Linked DNA regions of Homo sapiens: all the other regions are linked to region 4. Evidence: promoter capture Hi-C in human tissues and cell types (Jung and others, 2019). All regions are on one chromosome and are shown on one strand. Each heading gives the region's core, a stretch centred on a gene start or on the middle of the fragment in contact. The rest is flanking DNA. Distances are from core to core; before and after follow the strand shown. Region 1 overlaps CDIN1 (CDAN1 interacting nuclease 1). Region 2 has its middle 140 kb from the start of MIR8063. Region 3 overlaps MEIS2 (Meis homeobox 2). Region 4 holds the start of DPH6 (diphthamine biosynthesis 6). Region 5 overlaps MEIS2 (Meis homeobox 2). Region 6 overlaps MEIS2 (Meis homeobox 2).

Region 1 (2,700 bases), core at 44-2,543, 1.1 Mb after region 4:
GATACGAAGTTTTTCTTTTGTGCTTCACCTTATAGCTCTTATTTTAGTTGTTAATACTATTTTGCTTAAGAAGCTTGATGAACAACATTCTTGGAAAATATGAATAGTATTTTTTCATTAGCCAGATAAAAATATGCAGACAATATGAGCTATTTTCTTTACAAGAACATAAAATACAACACGTCAAGTAGATTGTAGGTAATTTCTGCTTCATTCAGGACCTATGTGTTGGCCTCTTGGATTATAGTTGATCTGTGATGTCATTGTATACAAGCTAACCTTTGTATTTTAAAGGGGATTCCCTAACTTATTCTTGCTAAAACTGATTATTATGTGTAGGTAAATGTTTTGTCTTCTTCACTAAGCCACCTAATCTCCAATTTCTTGTTTTTGTTTTTCAGCCTGAGAAGATGTTTTATATAATCAGTACAGGACTAATTTTTCTTGGGCTCAGTGTTCCTTGTCTTGGTTCATTGCCTAGATACATCCATAAATATTTGTTGACTTGAGGTGAATATTTTGTTGATAATGTACCTACCATTTCCTTGTGACTCTAGGGTTGAGAGGGTATCAAGAAATTTTGTAGCTAACATGTAAAACATTTCAATAGAACTTTATAGTTTATAAGAAGTTTTGATATATTTTATTTGACACATAAATAGCTCTGACATAGCTAAGGCAAATGTTATGATTGCATTTTATAAATGATAAACTGAATTTCAGGTTAAGTGACCAGCTTAGTCATACAGTTAGAAAGGACAAGAGCTGGGACTTGAACTTGGAAAACCCAAGCCTACATGTCCTGCTTACTCTTGTTACATGCCTGAATGCACAAATGAACAAACAAAAGCAATGAACGAGTGGGAGAATCTGTGTCTTCTGATTTCAGATTCATCCTCTCTCCATTATTTAATGAATGTAAATCGACTGCATTGTTTAGATATTGCCCAAGTGTTTAGCATCTCTTACTGTCATAAAAGTTTTTCTTCTTTTTACCTAAATCTCACCTATTATCATTGGTGCATATTTCCACAATATGTCGAGTTGGAGTCCCAGTTTGATCCTATACTAGCTGTCATCCTGGGTGAAGTCTTCCAGAGCCCTAGTTTGCTCTTCTTTAAAATCAGATAACAACATTTACCTTTCAAAGTTAAACAGATTAAAGATGATTTTGTAAATTGCCTGGCATGTTACTTGGCACATAGTAGGCACTCAAAGAATCATGATTTTTATAGTAATAGGCAGTAATATTCCAACAAATACTTACACTTGAGCCATATGAAGGATTAATTTCCCTTCTTCTTCGTTAGGTACTCTTGAATTGTGAATTCTCTGATAATTTTAGAGATCCTTTTCGGAAACCTCTTGAAATAATGTTTACGATGCTCTGTATGGGCGGAAATTAATTATGGTCTTATGAAAGCTACATAGAATGGAGGCTGGCCTCAATTTCCTGAATTCGTTTTCTAATTTATTATATCTTATAGTAACAAAACAACAGCATATGTTTAGATCTATCTGCATATGCACTATTGAAATTTACTTTTTTCCTGCTGTAATTACCCATACTTGTATCTTATACTTCTGGAATTCTTATAACCAACATTCTCAAAAGTAACAGGGGTTGATGTTTTTAGTGGTAATGAAAGGGTTAAGTTTGTCATAAGGTCATTTCTGGGAGAAGCAAGTCTAATAGAAAGCTTTTACTTTTTTAAAATAAAATTTTATTTTGGGATAATTTTAGACTTACAGAAAAGTTGCAAAGATAGTACAGAGAGTTCTGCCTATATCCATCACTCAGTTTTAGTTATCCCTAATGTTATCATCTTATATTACTGTGATACATTTGTCAACACTAAGAAACCCTCACTGGTACCTTACTATTATTGATTGCACTCCAGACGTAATTCAAATTTCACCAGTACCCAATCCAGGATTCCACATTACATTTAGCTGTCTTGTTTCCCAAGTCTCCTCTGGTGTGTGAAAGCAATCTTTTCTTGTTTTTGATGGTCATGATGTTTTTGCAGAGGATATTCTGCATAATGCCTTCAATTTGGATGTGTCTAAGGTTTTTCTCATAGATTTGGGGAAGAATAAGGTGAAGTTCCCTTATCATTATATCATATCAAGGGGTATGTGGTATCAACATGATTTATCACTGGTTATGTTAACCTTAATCTGTTGGTTAGGTTAGTGTTTGCTAGATTTCTCCATTGTAAAATTACTATTTTTCCCTTTCCATACTCTCTTCTTTGGAAGCAAGTCACTAAATTTAGTACACACTCAAGTTGAGGAGAATGATTAAACTCTGCCTTCTGGAGAGAGGAGTGTGGAGAGATATTATTTGGGTTTCTTCTGTAAGGAAGTTTAGTCTCCTCTCCCTGTTTATTTATCATTTTTATATTTGAACTTACATATATGTATAATTTTGAGATACAGTCCCACTAAACAACTTTTATTTAGATTTAGAACTTAAATTTGTAGCATACATTTTAATTTTTTCTTTTAATTCCATACTCCTTCTTCTCTTGTCTGTGTTACCCATAAACTGAGCAAACATATATCCTTGTCTGCTATTCATTTCAGTGATAAACTATTTAACAGAAGTCCAGAGTAGCGCTCCTCTTCAAGAACACAGATAAACTCTTTCGTTAGTTACTCTTGTTAATAAAGAGGCCTGATAAGTATCAAAAGTAA
Region 2 (2,700 bases), core at 115-2,614, 1.3 Mb after region 4:
TAATGTTAAAATTTAGAGACCTGTAGTTATTTCTTTTTGTGTGCGTGTATTGTCATCATTTTTTCTGACTATAAAAGAAAAAGTAATCTCTGTAAGTCAATTGCATCTCCATTGTAAAATAATCCAATTTTATTCTATGAACATTATTATTACGTGGAAGAAGGAAGAGAAATTACTTATGACCAATATCAGAATGGTTTGATTTTTCTTGGTTCTGCCTTTGTTTTCAGTAGTCCATACATTGTCCTGCTCAGGGTATAACAAGACCCAAGTCACAAAAGGAAGAATTATAGTTTGTCTTTGAGAAATAAACTTTAACAAAAACTATTTTTAAATATGTTAATTCCTACTGAGAAAAACAAAGAAGTCTGAAATAAATAATATCAGATTCATGAATCTGAAGACTTAATGTTGTTAAGATGTCAGTTCTCAACAAATTGGTCAATAGACTCAATGCAATCTTAAGCAAAATACCAGCAGTGTTTTTTTTTCTAGAAGTTGATGGGTTAATTCTGAAATTAACATTGAAATGCAATGGACCTAGAATAACCGAGACGATTTTGAAAAAGAAAAATGAAATTGAAGAACTAATCTACCTAACTTCAAGACTTAGTATAGAGCTTCAGGAATCAAGGCAGTGTGCTAAATAGACACATAGATCAATAGAACAGACTAGAGAGTCTGGAAATAGACCCAGACTTAAATGCCAACTGATTTTTGACAAATGTGCTGAGGCAATTCAATGCAGAAAACATAGGTATTTCAAAATATAATGCTGGAACAACTATACATTTATAAGGAGAAGGAAATCTAGACCCCCTGCCTCACACCATATGCAAAAATTAACTCAAAATGGATCAGAGCCTAAACATGAAAGATAAATTTATGAAATTATTTTTTAAATAAGACAAAAAGATTATTTGATCTTGACAAAGATTTCTTAGATAAACCACAAAAAGCATGTATCATGATAGAGAAATGATAAATTGGACTTCAATGAAATGAAAAACTTCTGTTCTTTGAAACACACCACTAATAAAAAGAAAAGGCAAACCATAGCCTAGGAGAAAATGTTTACAAAACATATTTGACAAAGATTTGTATCCAGGATATGTATTTTAAAAACACTTACAACTCAGGGGTTGTAAGAAGACAAGCTCTCTAGGTTTAGAAGCTGGGCAAATGATTTGAACAGGTACTTCACAAAAGAATATGTACAAATGGCCAATAAGTACGAGAAAAAGTGTTCAACATTATTAGTCATTAGGAAAAATGCAAATAAAAACCACAAAATATACACACCCATTAGAATAGCCAAAGTTTTAAAGACTGACAATATCGAGATTTGGGGAGAATATGGAAAAATTGAAATTTTCATACATTGTTAGTGGGGAGGTAAAACGGTGCAACACTTAGACAGTTTAAAAATTTCTTAAAATTTTAAACATACATTTACCCTATGATCCAGCAATTCCACCCTTGGATATTTATCCAAGAGAAATGAAAACATGTGTCAACACAAAGACTTGTAATGAACATTTATATGAACTTAATTCATAGTAGCCAAAAACTGGAAACAGCTCAAACATCCATCAACATGTAAATGGATAAACAAATTGTTGTACTTTTCTCTTAAAATTGATTCATTTTTATTGTATGTAAATGACATCCCCAAATAGTTGATTTTTTTCAAAAACTGTATTAACTCTGATTACTGAGACTTTAATGCTCTGGTGCCAGGTAGGGACTATCCTTAATACTGCTCTGGTAGGACCATTTTTTTAGGTCAGCGGTGTTACTGATAAATATGACATTCACATTTGAAGTATTTATTTGAAATATTTGAGAGAAGCATTGTTTAGAAACATTGTGAACATTAACAAATTGAAGTGAATTGTGCATATTATCATAATTAAATGAAGGAAAATTACATAAAAGCAATCCCCACATTTAAAAGTGAGCTTAGAGAGTGTCTTAGTTTCCAAGGACAACTATAACAAAATACCACAAACTGAGTGGCTTAAAACAACAGAAATTTATTGTCTCACAATTCCAGAGACCAGAAGTCTAAAATCAAGGCATTGGCAAAGCCACTCTCCCTCTGAGAACTGTAAGGGAACCCTTCCTTGCCTCTTCTAGTTTCTGGTGGTTTGCTGACAATCTTTAGCATTCCTTGGCTTGCAGCTTCATTACTCCAATCTCTGCCTTTGTTATCATGCGTTATCTCCCTGTGTATCTCTATCTTCAGATGACCGTTTTCTTATAAAGACATCAGTCACGTTGAATTAGTGGCCCATGCTGTTCCTTTATGACTTCATCTTAACTAATTACATCTGCAATGACCTTACTTCCAAATGTAGTCACATTTTGAGGTACTAGGAGTTATTTGGAAGGGATACAACTCAACCCATAACAACTGGTAAAAATGTGGAAATCACCCGTATTTTCAACAGGACAAGAGAATCTGGTTCTCTCTCTCATTGACCAGAGGTAAGTGATTTATTAATTCATTCCATCACTTATTCAGTAATCCATTCCTCTATTCATTAATTTAATAAACATTTATAGAACACCTACAATGTGTCAAGTCTTATGCTAGACACTGAGGATGCAAAGAAGAATAACAAGACCCTACTGTTGTAGAACTAGGGTGTCATCAAGGTAAGAGACAAGTAAACAAATACTTAAAATACCTGTTGG
Region 3 (2,786 bases), core at 179-2,678, 1.5 Mb after region 4:
AGGCCAAGAAAATCATTTGTGAATGTCCCTCCTTCTATGTCAAAACTTGTAATAAGCAGTAGAAATCAATAAAGTTTTAGTTGCAAAAACATAAGGCCACAGAAGGGATGGTATACTCCAAGGATGTAGTCAAAGAGACAGAAGGAGAGATCTTTCACAAAGAAGACGGAAACGTACAACTTTACTGTCTTCTTGCTTTGTCAGTGATCTTGTCCTACGATCATGGAGATTGAACAGGCCAATATTTAAATCAAAACAAATATCCATGCTCATCCTCTACAACTTCCCAGGAGAAATTCCAATCAGATCCTTCACAAATTCTAATTTTATCCTAGTGAGGGCAACTGTATGGCATCAAATTTACATATAAGGACCCCTGAAGAATTTAACCAAATTTACCTTCTTCTGTTGAATTCTGTTATGTGCCATATGTTTTTGGAATGTATTTTTAAAAATTGGAAACCAGTGATTTCTGTGCCTTAATCATCATCCTGTTCATCAAGATCAGTAGCTTAGAAAACTTTGTTCACTTGACACTTGAAATGATGTCAGAGAAATGTTCATCTTCAAGGATGGGGTAAGACGTCTCTTCAGTATGGCAATTCCAAACTATCAGTAATTTTCTAAAACCATATATGGCATTACAAGCCTGTCACCAAATCAATACTTACAGGGTGGATTTTTAGAAAAGAGCTGATCTCCGTTACCATTATGACCTAGAAAGCATCAAAACAACTTTACTGAAATGTCCAGGCATATGATAGAAAATACCAAAACCCACCTGAAGCTTTCAGAATGAGGGAACATCTCTAGCCCATATTTTAGGTCTGACAACAGGTATCTAAGAGCATTTTGTTTTTTCTTTTAGAGATAAGGTCTCACTATGTTGCTCAGGGTGGACGCAAACTTCTGGCCTCAGGTGATCTTCCTGCCTCAGCCTCCCAAATAGATGGGATTACTGGCGTGCACTACTGTGCAGGACTGCTAGGTATCCGACATCATTTGACAACTTTTCTTGCAGACAGGGTGTGGTACCCTGGTTAAGTGTCTGGATTTAGGGATTAGATAGACCTGATTTACAATCTTAGCCCCACCACTTTCTAGATATTCCAGGTAAAGGGAAGTTTCTTAGTCTCTCTAAGCCTCAGTTTTCCCAACTGAAAAACCCACACAAGCTTATGAGGATTAAATTATACTAAACGTACAGCACAATGTTGGGCATAGAGTAGCTGTCAAGCATTAGCTATAATAATGATGATAATCTTGCTATTGCTGCCATATTTGGGTATACATATCATAGGTACTTTTCCTTGATCTAGCACTTTTTTCTGTCTATCAATGGTAATAATCAAATAGAACTGAGTCTCAGATTACGATAAAGCTAGTATCTGGAAAGATGGTGATTGAATTCCAGATGGCACTCTTTAAAATTTTTAAACAAGAAATTAGTTCACATATCACATTAGCTTTTCTCCTTCCTAATAGCATATGACACTATAAAGAAGCCATGAAAAATGAACTAATATAAAGAGAAAATATTTCTTCACCAATGGGTGTTAAGCTGCAAGATCTGTGTTGAAATTCTTGCTTAAGTCAAACAGTTCTTAGGCTAGAACTGGTCAAGATTTGAAACAAAACGATTTTTTTGTCCCATATATGAAAAACTTGATCAGAAGGATTTTATGGTGGGTTAAGTAATGATATGCGAAGACAGCATTTAGTCTGTAAAAGCAAAAACTAAATAGAACTTAAGGTCCAGTGATAACTTACACATTATCTCAACCAAAATAAAATAACATATTTTAAAACTTAAGATATCAAAAGAGAGAAAATACCTCATTTGTGTCTCCATACAATATATCAACTAAATAGAAAACTAGGAAATTAAAGACATCTGTGTACATATCCACTTATTTTCAGGACAGAAAGCAAACCAGCAATGCAGATACTACGTTAGTATATAATGCTGATAAGAAATCTCTATTTTTTCTATTTTTCTTTTGTATATTTACATAAAAACATATTTACAACGTAAATATGTAGTAATATATATGACCCCAATTGTAAACAAAAAACCATATCACTTATAAAAGTTTAAAATAAAAAGGACATTATGAATAATATTAGCAATCCTTACAGCAAATGATACAATAAAACATATTTGCACAGGCAAAGTGAATTGATTAGTTACATTTAGGCTAATTTCTTACTGCTATGCAAAATGGAATACTATTTTTGATTTTCATTAGTCAAAATAATTGAATAATTGGTCAACTTTCAAATTAATTTTAACTGTGTAGACACCATCGACATTGTCCTAGAACTTGAGCAAAGGAAGGTTATAAGAACACTTACGCATGGGAAAATGGATTGGATTGGAGTATCAAAAGCCATTGTCTTTAAGAAATCCTGAAACTCTATAGGTTTTAAGAAAGTCAGGATTAACTTCTCTTTAAACCACAAACCCAATCCAGTGAGTAAAAATCAACAAACAACTACAACATTTCTAAAGAGGGAATAAATTATCTATTGTCTGGTATCATTTCTTAGGCAACTAATTCCCATTGAAATGTTGAGCCAAAGATAACTAGATATTTTCAAAATGTGCTTTTTAGATCTTTAGCACAGAAAACTTTGAACATAGGATACTACGTGATTTTGAAATTATGCTGAAATATCATTCTCATTCCTATGATCACTCATGATGTAATATTTTTCAGAAGTTTTCAAGATCAGGTCAACTAGAGATTAGAAGTACTTACATAGTCTCAATTCAAAGTATGCCC
Region 4 (2,833 bases), core at 190-2,689:
GCAAACTTTTTTTATTATAAAGCAACATATGCACATTACAGGTTATTTAGTGTAACTGACTCTACCAATCTTCTCTCCTCCCCTCCAATACTTCTAAGTCTTTGTTTGTTGTGCTTTACTTTAATCGTTAAACTTTTGGCAAGCGATGTAAATTTGAATTATTCACTTCCTGGGGTACTTTTAATTCTTAAAATAAGACACAATGGTTAAAGCTTAATCATTTATGTTACAGAGGACATTTACTGAACAACAATAATTATTGTGACATTATGGTCTAGTCTCCTAAAAATGACATTGAAGGAAAGGGAACCGGAATATTCCAGACACTACAGTAGGTCTGAAATCTCATATCAAGTCCTTAATAGGTCAAAACTTACAGCCAGTATCAATTACCTAAGGGACTTAACGAAAACGTTTATGAAATCTTCAATTGGATTACAAAAGCAAGCACATCGTTGCACTGTATCTAAGACACTCTACAGGGCAAAATCTCATGAAACAAGTATTTAAGTAGTCTAACTTTTTAATGTTGCTAGTGTGTTCCCTTCTGCCTCAGTTTATAGATTGAGTATGGAAATATTTAAGCAGGTTTGTTTTTGGTTTGTCAGTCACAGGACTTATTTAGACACTTAAATTTATGATTTGGTTACTACAGACATCAAACTCCTTTTGGAATACGGAGTATAGGGTAAGGTCACTCTAAAGCAATGATGAGAGTCCGAAGCAACAGCAACTGGATCTAGCATAAGACTAGTACAATTCGGTCTCTACCACGAAGAGAGATCTCTGTACTTGAGTGCCCAAAGGCAGAAACACACACATGCCATAAGCAATCCACATCTGTGAAGATGAGGGAGGGGTGGACTTCTTGGGATGGGCGGAAACACTTACAACTAGGGAGGAAGCCAGGCTGCGGCGGACCCAGCTGACCAAAGGAACTACAGAAGAGGACGAAGAAAGCGAGGGGGAAAGGGCGAGGGTTATTAACTGAGTTGATGGAATAAGGTAGTGGCTCCAAACTTCACGGCTCATTAGAGCTTGAAAAAAAAAAATCAGACGCCGGGTCGCACAGAAGTAATTAAACCAATCCCTCTGGCGGTGGGGCCCAGGCGTCGGTACTTTTTTTAATTTCCCACTTGAATCCAATGGGAATCCAAGTTTAAGGGCTAGAAGACCAGAGAGCGACAGACAGGGAGGAGGCGCGCCAGCCAGGGGCCGAGGCACATGCGGGCCGGCAACAGCGAAGGCTCCGCCTCTTCCTGTGGCTCGGAGGAGCCGCGGAACCCCCAACGCGCGACTCAGACGGAGACACCCACTCTTTCGGCGCTAGCGGCGGCTGGAAGGGACGAGAGCCTGGCCTAGGAGGAAGGAGGCGGCTCCAGGACCGCATTACCTGATCAGAGCCGCGACCCTCATGCTGGGCGCAGTGCGCGTGCGTGCGGCGAGCGCGGGCGGGAGCCAGGAGGTCGCGCCGCAGCTCGCGTGACGCACCGCGGGGCCTCGCCCGGGTGTTCGCTCCGCCGCCTGTCCGCGGATCGGCGCTGCGAGCCCCGCGGCTGCCTGCGGGACACCTGAGCGCGGAGGGTGCGGCACCTTGGCACCTTGACCCTGTGGCAGGGACATCTCGGCCCAGGAAAGAATGAGGTTTAGGCACGGCCTAACCACCTAAGTGAGGGCACTGAAGCTGCCGGGGGAAGGGCAAGGTCCGCGTTGCAGAGCCCAAGCCCAGTGGCGCAGGATTTGTTTTGGTAAGAGGGGATTTAGCGTCCCAATTGCTGCAAATTGACACAGTTGCGGACGTGCAAGCGCAGAAGAAATTTGTCCTTCCTCACCCCACAGAACAGAAACAACTGTACACTTCTGCTTTTTAACTTACATCTCCTCTGTCCTCCAAACCTGTGTGTCCAGATGTGAAACTCAGATCCCCAGGGGCTGTGGTAATTTTTAAATCTGGGGCTAGCCCCCCCCACCTCTAGGCCCTCTGTGGCTTTGGCTCTTGGTCAAGCTTGTGTATTTGACAAGGCCAGGCCAGGCTCTTCACCAAAGAGCAATGGCCTTGCAGAAAGAAAATCTAGCTTCTAAGTTTATTTGCCAAGTATGTATTGAGTGCCTTTCGTGTACCAGGCACTGTTTTAGACTCTGTGGATACAACCGTAAATAAAACAAAAACCCGGCATTCCGGGCATAGAGCTTAAATGGGGATGGAGAGAACAGACAATACATATCTTAAAGGTAAATAGTCTGTTGAAGAGTGAAAAGTGCTATTGGAAAGGGGCGGGGTGCGGTGGGGGAGAGTCAGGAGAGAGGTGGAGAGGCAAATTGCAGAATTAAATCGTGTCTATGTAGGCCTTATTGGTAAGATGAGAGTTGAGCCAATTTAAATAAGGAGAGTTCGCTATGTGTATGATTGGGGTGTGCTCCAGACAAGAAAAAAAAATCGAAGGCTCTAGGTGCGTTGTGTGTTTGTGGAAGATTAAGGCAGATCCGTGTTGCTGGAGCAGATTGAGCAAAGCAGAGAGTAGTGGAGAGCAGGTTAAGGTGATGGAGGGGAAGGATTATATAGGGTCTTGTAGGTAATTGCAGACTTTTGAAGGGTGTGACTTAAAATTTTAAAAGGATTGCAGTGTTGAGAATCCACCTATTAGGAAGCTGTTACAGTGTTCCAGTAGAGAGATGGCGGAGCCTAGAATCAACATGGTGAATTTGGTGAGAAGTAAGAGGATTCCAGCTCTATTTTGAAGATAGAGCCAATAGAATCAAATTCGATATGGGATACAAGAGAAAGAAAGTCATGAGGGATGATGCCAAAGGCATGAATTAAGTAAGTTAATAT
Region 5 (2,700 bases), core at 37-2,536, 1.4 Mb after region 4:
TAATCTCCTCAAATGTAAAATGAGAATAAATTATATAGTCTACTTCAAAGACTTAACCTGAAGATGCAATGTGAAGTCCAATTTGTATTGTAAAGACATCAGAACAGTAGGTGAGAATTACAAGGAAACATATTTAAAAAATTCTACAAATAAATGTTAATGCTTACAATCCTGTAGACACTGCAAGGCATACATGGATGAAGAAGATTTAGTCTTGCTCTCAGAAAGGTTGGAGTTTAGCGGTAAAGCAATAACCATGCAATAAGATGAAAGAGTCTCAATGCCAGAAGAGTGGCCATGGGTGTGCAGAAAAGGTGGAGATAACCTGGATGAGAGCGGGAGGAGGAGAGGAAGCTTTGGGCCCTTCCTTGAAGGATTCTGACAGGAGGGAATGGGAAGGACAGAAGGAGAGAGAACATACCAGATAGAGAAAACTACTTAAGTAAATGCACAGATAGAGCAAGTACTCCTAGTCATAAGCTTAGTAGAAAAGGTACCGGACTGAAGTTAGGTGGTAAGTTTGAATTCTGCTGGTGCAATTTCTCAGCTACATGACCTCTCTGACTCACCATTTCTCATCTGTAAAATGGAGATGATACCTACCTCGTAATTGTAAAGATTAAAGATTTTAGGCCAGGCACATTGGCTCATGCCTGTAATTCCACCACTTTGGGAGGCCTAGAGGCAGGAGGATTGCTTGAGTTTAGGAGTTTGAGTCCCAGCTACTCTGCAGACTGAGGTGGGAAAAATCACGTGATCCTAGGAGTTTGAGGCTGCAGTGAGCTATGACCATGCCACTGTAGTCCAGCCAAGGTAACAGAGGGAGACTCTGTCTCCAAAAATAAATAAATAAATAAAGATTTATCCAAATAATGGGCATATTTGGATAAATTTTTGGACAAATACTTGTACAAATATTATCAATGTTTTATGTACTTAAGAAATTTTGGAGGGACAGGCACGGTGGGTCACACCTGTAACCCCAGCACTTTGGGAGACCAAGTTGGGTGGATCACCTGAGGTCAGGAGTTTGAGACCAGCCTGACCAACATGGAGAAACCCTGTCTCTACCAAAAATACAAAATTAGCTGGGCGTGGTGGCACATGCCTGTAATCCCAGCTACTCAGGAGGCTGAGGCAGGAGAATCTGTTGAACCCGGGAGGCAGAAGTTGTGGGAGTCGAGATTGCGCCACTGCACTCTAGCCTGGGCAACAAGAGTGAAACTCCGTCTCAAAAAAAAAAAAAAAAATTGGAAACAGTAATTTAAAAAATCCTCAATATTACCAAAAGAATTCTGATTAGTGGCTAGTTTATGTGTACAGTGGTCCAGTCATAGCACTAATTTCTATAATCACCTAAACATTGGAGGATGAACATTAAAATTTGTGTTATTGACTTGCACTTGGTATTTTATCTACAATGACCCATTATTAGAATGTAGATGAAATAGAGCAAGTAATAAGTGAGATAGCCTGAATTTTAAGCTATCTTGCTAGATTTTGTCTTTCAGAGTATCATTTTCTCCTTCCACTGACATGGATGAGCATAAACACAATAGGTGGATCTTTATTTAGAGCTCACAAATTATTCGTCCAAATATTTAGGCACGTAAGAACAACATACCCTTCTAGTTATTGTTCCTTGAAGTCAAGGATGAAGGAAGTTAAACTACATAGTCATTGGAGCATGGATACTGATGCTGGAATAAGAAAAACAAGAAGAAATGGAGGCTGGAGATTAAAGTCCCAGCAACACTTAGCAACCTATACTGCTTTTATTTATTTATTTATTTATTTATTTATTTATTTATTTATTTTTATTTTGACAGAGTTTCACTCTTGTTGCCCAGGCTGGAGTACAATGGCTCAATCTTGGCTCACCGCAACCTCCACCTCCCGGGTTCAAGCGATTCTCCTGCCTCAGTCTCCCTAGTAGCTGGGATTACAGGCATGCGCCACCACGCCCGGCTAGTTTTGTATTTTTAGTAGACAGGGTTTCTCCACATTGGTCAGGTTGGTCTCGAACTCCCGACCTCAGGTGATCCACCCGCCTCGGCCTCCCAAAGTGCTGGGATTACAGGCGTGAGCCACGGCGCCCGGTCTATACTGATCTTCAGGTACCACCTTTTTCTTTTTATAAAAGAATTCTTAGAGATCTTAGAAGGCTAAAGGGGAGAATGATGCAGAACCTGTTTCACTGATAAATAAAAACAGGTCTGCTAAAAATCCTTTAAGTTGAGCCCACATGGGATGATGACTTACGGATCACAAATGTGGGAAAATGGACCTCCATGCTTCCTTTGGCAGATAACAATCTCTTATTTCTCATTTTCACCAAATGAAGACAGTAGGAATACAGTCTTGACTTAGTGTATGAGAACTATACTCTCTGAATCACCTGTGTTCTGAGGATAAAACAATAAAAAGTTATAAAGTAATCAAGTCCTTAAATTTAAAAAGAAAAACTACTATGGAAGTCATGTGGAATCTGTTGTTCTACATCCTTTACCTAGACTGGAACTGACCAGTCTGACAAATATGGGTGGAAGCTGAAATTTAACCAGCGCTCACGGCCGGGAGGTAACAGATCTTGTTTTCTATTGGTAAAAGCACACCCCAAAGGTTTCAGAAGGGCCAGGAAAAAACAAAAACAAAAACAAAAACAAAAAAAAACCTCTGTTGTTCATTTTTAACCTCGAA
Region 6 (2,723 bases), core at 172-2,671, 1.4 Mb after region 4:
TAGTTTGATTTATAATTTGATAGAATACTAGATTTGCCTACACCTTTAAAAACACATGAACTAAATACTAATAAATTTATAATATAAAAACATGATGTTAATCTGGAATCACAACATTTTGTACCTTTATGAATATGGCTTGAATAATGGAGTGTTCATGCTGACATAAAAGGCCCTGGACAAAATTATCAAGTAAGTGATGGCCTTCTACTGTCTTCTTTCAATATTCTTACTTTCATCTAATTCTTCCCTAAAGTTACAAGGGCTCCTGGAGGTTCTTTACTAAAATACTCTACTTTGAGCATGCCCTTCTCCATTATTGTTGTATACTCCAGACTTATGCATAGAGCAATACGGTGAAGAGCATGGGCTCATGTCCTCTGCCCTTTATTTGCTGTGTGAATTTGGACAGTTCTTCTTAACCTTCCCAAGCTTCACTCTGTTTCCTATCTGTAAACTGAGGAAATAACTGGGCCTGGGTGGTTTTGAGGATTGAGGGAGATTTTGTATGCAAGATCCTTAGCACAATGCCTGGCACATAGCAAGCTCATTAAATGTTAGCTTACAGTCAAAATGCACCTATCCAATGCTCCTAAATAGCTCTGTTCTCTCATAGATAGTAATTAGGAATAGGTGGGTGGCTGTTAAACAAATCTATGCTGGATTGGCCACAGGGTAATAACTGTGTTGTACTCCTACAGGTAGCGTGTGTTCATATCGCCGGATCTTTCTAAAAATCGGAGTTTAATCCAAATGTACAATGCTATGGTGGAGATTTTAGACACTGGGGCAGGCATCTGCCTGCAGGGGTGGGAGGTGGATAGGGGAGTGAGCTCTTTTGGAATCACACTCTCTGTATGGTTCTCTAGATCCTTGCTACTTTACATGTGTGCCATGGACCAGTAGCAACATCACCTTGAGCTTGTTAGAGATGCAGAAATACATTACCGTCCCCATTCCTGTGCTACTGAATCTGATTCTGCATTTTAAAAGATCTCCAAGGGATTTATGTACATTTAAGTATGAGAAGCCTTGCTCTAGATCACATATCAAATTCTAGTGCTCTGCTTAAGAATAGAAACTTGCAAAGATCAAGTTTTAATTGTGAATCTCAGCTGCAAAAAAATGCACATACTCTTCTCTTTAGGTATCTTAGATCTAAACAGCCTTTTACTCACTTGCCTTGGGCAATAAACACTTTATAATAATTTAATTTATTGTACTCCATCTGTACCTCTTAAAGGAAAAGCTGGGCCAGTAAAATGTTTTTGTGAAGACTGTTAACAGAGGCTATCTCTCAGGCATGGATAGGAGAATGGTAGATTTCTATCTTTTTTTCCAAATAATTCTGTACTGTTGGAGTTTTTAATAAATATAATTATTTTTATACATAAAAGAATTTTTAAAGGAGATCAAGAAAATTTGTTATCTTATTTGACTAAGGTTTATATGGGTAACTGTAGGGACCTTTTAATTAAAATATTTGAGAAATTTCCCCTCAGATAGGGAATTATCTTTTATTTCCTTTACAATATTGAGCAACAGTAAACACTATTCCATGAATACAATCACACTTGATGGCATGTAACAAAACATCCCAGCAGGTTACGATTTTGAAGCACTGTTACTCTTACAGAATGCCATCAGATTATTCATATGTAGCTATTTATCATGCACTATAAAAGTGATCTTTCAAAGCTATTTGAAAGCAAGGGAGGAGAAAACACTCAAACTTCCTTAGCTATTCACATCTAGGATCTATCCTCTTAAAGATAAAATCCTAAGTCAATAGACATAAGTTGTAGTATATTACCTCATCCTGTACATGATTTATTGCAGATGGAAGTCAACTAGAAACTGAATTACTTTGAAACTTTTACTACTGACATTAAAATTCCAGATCTGGATACCTACACACCTTACAGTGCTTCTGAAAATAACTTTTTGCAGACACAGAAGGTACACCTACAAGTTTATTTAACTCTATCAACATAAAAAGCAGGCACAATCATTTTCAAAACTACTGATTTCTAATTACCTATTCTGTATCTGAGCACTGTAGCCTGACCTGGCTTTGCAAATCAACCAGTCACTTCACAATCAGTTGCACACATTCTTAGCCAACTCCCATTATGTTCCTAGCCATTTTACTGTAAGAGGAAAAGATCCCAACAAATCTAGTAGCTTTTTAGCTTTCATGATCACCTTTGATTGAAGTATTAATTCTCTATCCTACTTCTTAATGGAAACCACCTAAGCATTAACTGGCCAAAAATGCACCAAGCTGTTTAGCAATTATGTATTAGATATGTTTGAAGAGATCAAGGTGCACTCACATGCCCTGTGCTATGGATATGTCTCTGATTAGCTTGTCATCTGCTCAGAAGAAGATGTAGGCTGATTCTCCCATACAGTCTAGCAGGCCAGCTGTTAGCTGCCTGTCAAGCCCTCAAGTGGACAAGTAGTCCAGGAGCAAAAATGTCACTCCTTTGATCTGGCAAGGAGCAGCTGCTGATTTATAGAGTAGGACTTTGTTCTTCCGTTCTATTTTACTTTCTTTCCTAAGGCAGAACCACAAAATCCAGGAGAAAAAAAAAGTGCCGTTCCCAGCAACATCAACAAGCTCTGACAACTGCAACAGGGTTTTTCTTGGCCCTAACAAAGCTCTCAGGCATCTCCTTTGACGCTCACCTTTCCCCCTCCCCTTCCTCCCACCCCCACCA

Evidence for each region. Contacts are between HindIII fragments. The study calls those that stand out against the background at their distance.
Region 1: a fragment that was not itself captured here is called in contact with the fragment with the promoter of DPH6 in region 4 in 1 of the 25 tissues and cell types used here (dorsolateral prefrontal cortex).
Region 2: a contact is called between a fragment that was not itself captured here and the fragment with the promoter of DPH6 in region 4, in 2 of the 25 tissues and cell types used here (dorsolateral prefrontal cortex and lymphoblastoid cells).
Region 3: a contact is called between a fragment that was not itself captured here and the fragment with the promoter of DPH6 in region 4, in 1 of the 25 tissues and cell types used here (dorsolateral prefrontal cortex).
Region 5: a fragment that was not itself captured here is called in contact with the fragment with the promoter of DPH6 in region 4 in 3 of the 25 tissues and cell types used here (dorsolateral prefrontal cortex, lymphoblastoid cells and spleen).
Region 6: a contact is called between a fragment that was not itself captured here and the fragment with the promoter of DPH6 in region 4, in 1 of the 25 tissues and cell types used here (spleen).

The regions. Positions count from the first base shown.
Region 1 is chr15:36,667,710-36,670,409 of GRCh38, forward strand. The region is part of intron 5 of CDIN1 (CDAN1 interacting nuclease 1); the gene reads left to right. It overlaps LOC124903466 (a long non-coding RNA gene), which reads right to left. Exons shown (of 3, transcript XR_007064582.1): 3 at 1,189-1,387. Among named protein-coding and RNA genes, the nearest start is that of CDIN1, 89 kb to the left of the region's middle. The HindIII fragment of the contact is 5,881 bases long and covers 1-2,700 here.
Region 2 is chr15:36,834,808-36,837,507 of GRCh38, forward strand. No RefSeq gene overlaps it. Among named protein-coding and RNA genes, the nearest start is that of MIR8063, 140 kb to the right of the region's middle. The HindIII fragment of the contact is 7,525 bases long and covers 1-2,700 here.
Region 3 is chr15:37,062,348-37,065,133 of GRCh38, forward strand. All of the region lies in intron 7 of MEIS2 (Meis homeobox 2), which reads right to left. Among named protein-coding and RNA genes, the nearest start is that of MEIS2, 37 kb to the right of the region's middle. The HindIII fragment of the contact is 4,894 bases long and covers 1-2,786 here.
Region 4 is chr15:35,544,726-35,547,558 of GRCh38, forward strand. It overlaps DPH6 (diphthamine biosynthesis 6), which reads right to left and starts at 1,440. Exons shown (of 9, transcript NM_080650.4): 1 at 1,394-1,440. The coding sequence starts at 1,416. DPH6-DT (DPH6 divergent transcript) reads left to right here and starts at 1,470. Exons shown (of 3, transcript NR_038251.1): 1 at 1,470-1,748. RefSeq lists an enhancer at 441-1,375 and silencers at 1,423-1,562, 1,863-1,912. The HindIII fragment of the contact is 5,169 bases long and covers 1-2,833 here.
Region 5 is chr15:36,918,345-36,921,044 of GRCh38, forward strand. The region is part of intron 9 of MEIS2 (Meis homeobox 2); the gene reads right to left. Among named protein-coding and RNA genes, the nearest start is that of MIR8063, 53 kb to the right of the region's middle. The HindIII fragment of the contact is 5,263 bases long and covers 1-2,700 here.
Region 6 is chr15:36,901,605-36,904,327 of GRCh38, forward strand. The region is part of intron 9 of MEIS2 (Meis homeobox 2); the gene reads right to left. Among named protein-coding and RNA genes, the nearest start is that of MIR8063, 70 kb to the right of the region's middle. The HindIII fragment of the contact is 6,207 bases long and covers 1-2,723 here.